Regions from separate parts of the Homo sapiens genome. Here region 1 is linked to region 2. The links are contacts of gene promoters, found by promoter capture Hi-C in human tissues and cell types (Jung and others, 2019). All regions are on one chromosome and are shown on one strand. Each heading gives the region's core, a stretch centred on a gene start or on the middle of the fragment in contact. The rest is flanking DNA. Distances are from core to core; before and after follow the strand shown. Region 1 has its middle 22 kb from the start of SNORD3G. Region 2 holds the start of BARHL2 (BarH like homeobox 2).

The links. The method cuts DNA at HindIII sites, captures the fragments that hold promoters and counts their contacts. A contact is called where the count stands out against the background at its distance.
Region 1: a fragment that was not itself captured here is called in contact with the fragment with the promoter of BARHL2 in region 2 in 1 of the 25 tissues and cell types used here (neural progenitor cells).

What each region holds. Positions count from the first base shown.
Region 1 is chr1:90,678,626-90,681,325 of GRCh38, forward strand. No RefSeq gene overlaps it. Among named protein-coding and RNA genes, the nearest start is that of SNORD3G, 22 kb to the left of the region's middle. The HindIII fragment of the contact is 8,683 bases long and covers 1-2,700 here.
Region 2 is chr1:90,716,023-90,718,747 of GRCh38, forward strand. BARHL2 (BarH like homeobox 2) reads right to left here and starts at 1,280. Exons shown (of 3, transcript NM_020063.2): 1 at 549-1,280. The coding sequence starts at 1,173. The HindIII fragment of the contact is 10,681 bases long and covers 1-2,725 here.

The DNA of each region.
Region 1 (2,700 bases), core at 132-2,631, 37 kb before region 2:
GTGTATCTACATGGAAAATCACAAGGAACAAGGGACCCCAACCCCCAGGGCCACTAACTGGTACCATCCATGGCCTGTTAAGAACTGGGCTCTATAGCAGGAGGTGAGCATCTGCAAGGGAAAATTACTGCCTGAGCTCTGCCTCCTGTCAGATCTGCGGTGGCATTAGATTCTCATAGGAGCAGGAACCCTATTGTGAACTGCGCACACCAGGGATCTGGGTTGCAAGCTCCTTATGAAAATCTAACTAATGCCTAATGATCTGAGATAGAACAGTTTCATCCAGAAACCATCCCCCGACCCCCATCCATGAAAAAATTGTCTTCCAGGAAACCACTCCCTGGTACCAAAACAGTTGGGGACTGCTACTGAGGAATCTACCAAATGCTCTTAAAGCAACAAGTACATTCACAAAATCACAGAATACAAGGTCAACATACAAAAATCAATCATTTTTCTATATACTAGCAATGAACAACTGAAAACTGAAATTTTTAAAAAGTACCATTTACAATCGCCCCCTAAAAAATAAAACATACACAGATCTATACGCTGAAAACTATGAAATACTCAGAAAGAAGGCCTAAGTAAATAGAAAGGCACTCCATTTCCATAGATTAGAATATTCAACATAAATAAGATGTCAATTTTCCCCAAAGTAATCTAGATTTAACACAATAGCAATTAAAATCCCAGAGAGATATTTTGCAGATATAGATAAGCCTGTTCTAAAATTTGTATGGAAAAGTAAAGGAACTACAACAGTTAAAACAATTTTGAAAAAGAATGAACCAAGCTGGATAACTCAACATTACCCAACAGTAAAATGTATGATAAAACTATATCAATCAAGACTGGTAAAAGATGAAAGGACAGACACATAGATCAATGCAACATTACAAAAAGTTCACAAATACATCCACATAATTATGGTTGGTTGATTTTTAATAAAGGTGCAAAGGAAATTCAATGGAGAAAGGGTGATCTTTTCAACAAACGATACTTAGAACAACTGCATATCATATGCAAAAAATTGAACTTCAGCCTTAACCTAATACCACACACAAATGTTAGCTCAAAATGTGTCAGAGACTTAAGTGTAAAATAGAAAAATATGAAACTCAGAAAAGAAATGTAGATAAACATCTTCATGACCTTGGGTTAATCAAAGAGTCTTTTGATAAGACACCAAGTGATCAATCCGTTATAAAAGAATAATTAATAAATTGGACTTCATCAAAATGAAAATATATTGTTCTATGAAGAAAATCATAAAGAGAATGAGAAGACAAATCATAGATTGGAGAAAAAATATTTGTAAATCTCATACCTGATAAAGGATTTGTTTCCAGAATACACTTTAAAAACTCACAAAACTCAGCAATAAGAAAACAATCAACTTCATTTTTAAAATGGGAAAAAGATATGAAGACAAAAATGAATGTCTAATAAACACATGAAAAGAAATATGATATCATTAGGCATTATGGAAACACAATTAAAAACCACAATGATATACCATTATGCACTTACTAGAATGGCTAAAAAAAAAACAAAAAACAATACCAAGTGCTGACAAGGACACAGAGCAACTGGCACTCTCATACATTCCTGATAGGAATGCAGTATGGTACAGCCACTTTGGAAAACAGCCTGGCAGTTTCTTATCAAATTAAACCTACGCTTACCATATGATCCAACAATCCCACATCCATCTGTTTTACTCAGCTATTTTTAGGGTATTCATCCTAGAGAAATGAAAACTTATGTTCACACAAAAACCTGTACATGGATGTTTAGAGCAGTATGTTTGCCACAAGTAGAAACCTGCCAAAGAAAGCTGTCCTGCCTAGGGCTCTCTCTCCTCCATGGGGAAGGTCTGCATCCAGTGACTAACCAATGTGGGGGTATAGCCTTGGCCTCCTTGCTTTAAGACAGACAATTTTTCACAGGCATCCCAGTTTCAGGACTCTAGGTAAGATCAGTTGAAATGTCTATTGTGACTGAATCATAGTTCAACTTTTCCTTTAACCCTATTATTCTTCCCTCACCATTCACAGGTATGTCTCCCAAAACACCCACCAAAAAAACTTCCACACACAAATCTCAGAGTCTCAGAGACTGTTTCATGAGAAACCCAATTTGTGACATGGTAAAATTAAGTTTACCTCAAGTAAGGGAAAGATGAGAATACGATTTGGGACAAGAATAAGAAAAAGTTAAGCTAATATTGGTGTTATTTTTATAACTGTTTTAAATGTATGCATGTCTTCAGCAGACACTCTGATATATGTTATAGTAATTCAAGCCATACATCTCTGACAGTTATGTAGTAATTCCAAAAAATTCATAAAATATGTAGGTAATAATCTGGCCTAGAGGAAAGGCGGGAAACTTTAAATATTGAAACACCAGGTGAAACAGTCTATTGTACTCAGCTATTTTTTTCTCTGAAAGTCACTTGTAAAAAATATATATATATATATAAATATATATATATTTAAAGTTTAGGCCAGACTTAGTGGTTCACACCTGTAATCCCAACACTTTGGGAGGTCGTGGCAGGAGGATCACTTGAGCCCAGGAGTTCAAGATCAGCCTGGCCAACATAGTGAGACTCCTACCTTTACAAAAAATAAAATAAAATAAATAAGCCAGACATGGTGGTGCATGCCTGTAGTCCCAGCCACTCAGAAGGCT
Region 2 (2,725 bases), core at 30-2,529:
ATCTAATTTTTTTAAAGTTGCTCTGTTCATGAACTCAGAAATTTTTCCTCCATTAAAACCGATAATTCCTGTGATGATGTTAAGAAAATAAAGTGGGGGGGGGGTGAAATCACTTGTACTAAAGAATAAACACCAGGTTGTGATCACACCCACGCTAGCTAAGTGGTTTCTCTCTCCTACCTCCCCCCATTCCCATTCCCAAAGTCTAGGCTAGAAAAACCCCAAGTCCATCCCTTTTATCAACGAAAAGTATTTCCTGTCGGATGCCCTCCGCCGCCCCTCAACCCCCAGTAGATTAAAATTAAATAAAACAAAGGAAGGAGCTGGATGGCCGTGAAGGTTGTGGGGTAGAACAATAAACAGAACTTCGAGGAGTCCCCACATCGCACGCCCAGGCCTCCCTTCAGCTGCAGTCTTTTGACCGTCGCCCAGTCGCCCGAGAAGCTCCTGGAATCGCTCCCCAGCAGAGATCTGCTGAAGGCTGAAGGGGAGATTGGGAACCAGGAGGACAAGCTAGACGGCCGAGAGCGCCGGGTGGCGGGACTCACCGTGGCATTTGATGTCGCTCTGGGAATCCTCCCGCTTGTCGAGTTTGGTCTTGCTGTCCTCCTGCTCGAGCTTTGGCCTGAAGCTCTCGTGCACTGCGTTGCTCTCCTGCTTCGGGGTGTGGTGGGGAGAGGATACGCTGGTGCTGTAGGGTGCACATGCCGCCAGAGGTTTGCTGTCGCCCAAGATGTCCTTAATTAAAAAAGAAGACGTGGAAGTCCTGGGGGCCGAGGCGGCCGAGCCCAGCTGCTGGGGGGGCGGCGGCGGCGGCTGCTGTGGCGGCAGCGGCTGCTGCTGTTGGGGCAAAGGCTGCAAACTTTGCGTCGGGGCCGCGGCCGGCGGCGGCGGCTGCTGGCTGTGGTGGAGGTGGTGATGATGCTGGGTCGCGTCTGCTACCAGATGCGGCTCCGGGGGCTCCATGGTGACTGAGATAGGAGAAGAAGGCGCCGTCCCTACGGTATCAATCTCCGAACAGGGAGATGGGGTGGCCTGACTCCTAAAATCCGCGGTCCTGGCCTCACCGAGCGGGCGGAAATCTCCATTCATCATGCCTGGGCTGCCTGAACTGGCACTGGACAAAATCGTGTCTATTCCAAAACTCGACCCGCTGGCCCCTTCCATTGTCATTGCTACATGAGGTCCACGCCACTCCGCCGTTCAGCAGCCGCCCCGAACCAGCGAAGAAAGCTATCGATCGTAAAACAAAATAAACACCAAACAATGTTGCCGCCGCTTAAAAAAAAAAAAGTGGGGCGGGGAGAGAAGGAAGGGTAATTGGGAAGTGGCAATCTGTGGATACTTTCGACACAACTTTTTTTCTTTTATGCAAAAAGTAGGGGTGGAAAGAAAAAAGATGCGGGGGGCGGGGGGAGTTAAAAAAATTTCTGAGAAAACTCGGAACTTGCGCTCCAGGAACGACTGCGCACGTGGCGCGGCGGTGGCGGCGCGGAGGACCCAGGCGAAGGCGAAGGCGAAGGCGAAGGCGCAGGCGAAGGCGAAGGCGCAGGCGGCGGGAAGCTACGCCAAAGCCGCCGCCGCCGCCGCTGCCGGGGTCTGCCCACAGCCTGGCACCGGGCGGCAGCGGTGGCGGCGGCGGACGCGGCAGGTGCAGCGACCGCGAAGCCCGGGCGGCCGCGCGCCCTCGGAACTCCCCCGCGGCTCCCGAGGTGGCAGCCGCGCGCCACTCGGCAGCCCCGTAGCCGAGTTTCTGAACTTTCTTGGAAAGTTGCGGGGCAGACACGGCCGCAGCGGTTGCGGCAACCCGAGGAGGAGGAGGAAGAGGAGGACGACGAGAAGGAGCAGGCACAGAAGGAGGAAGCGGCGGAGACGCGATGCCGGGCGACTCCGGCCGCTGCCGGGCGCGTTCGCTTGTAATCCGGCTGCTGGCGGGCGGCGCCGACCCCCTCCCGTGACGTCACGGCCACTACCGCCGCTCCCCGCGCCGCGCCGCGCCGGGCCCGCGCCCCCGCCACCGAGGCCGCGCGTCCGGCCCCGCGCCCCTATTGGCCGCGCCCGCGCGAGCGAGGGACGCCGACGTGCCAGGGAGCCAATAGGCGCAGCGCTCGTGAGCCCGTCAGCGGACTCGGCTCGGACTCCGCTGCTCTTTTGAGAACCCGCACATCCCTGAGCCCGCAGCCCTGAGCCGAACTCCGAGTCCAGTGGTCCCGGTGTCCACAATCACGAGTGCGAGGCAAAGGGAGAGGGAGGAAGAGATCAGAGGGAGACCAGAGAAAGGGAACCAAAGGGGAGAAAGAAAAAAAAAAGTAGCAAGGATTCGCCCGTTTTCTTAAGTCAGAAGAGAGAGAGAAGAGGACGGGAAGGGACTTACCTTTAGGCTCCAGCGCGGCGGCCCTCGCAGCCTCCCCAAACGCGCGCGGGAATAGTCCGAAGACATTAAGAGCGGAGGAAGGAGATCCCTGAAGGAATCCACAGAAAAGTGTGTCACTTCAGGCGCCGGAGCCTTGCATAAGCGGGCGGGTCGGCTCTGGGCTCTGATTTCTCGCCCGACGAACCCAGGCGCTCGGGCTCAGCCCGGCGGGAGGCGGATCCCTGAGAGGGACACAGCCGGGTCCGCGTCCACCAGGCGCTCTCGGGGAGGACGAGGCCTGAGGCTCCAAGCTGGGGAACCAGCCTGGTCTCCAGCTGGAAAAAATGCCTGGCCAGACGCTTTCTCCCGAAC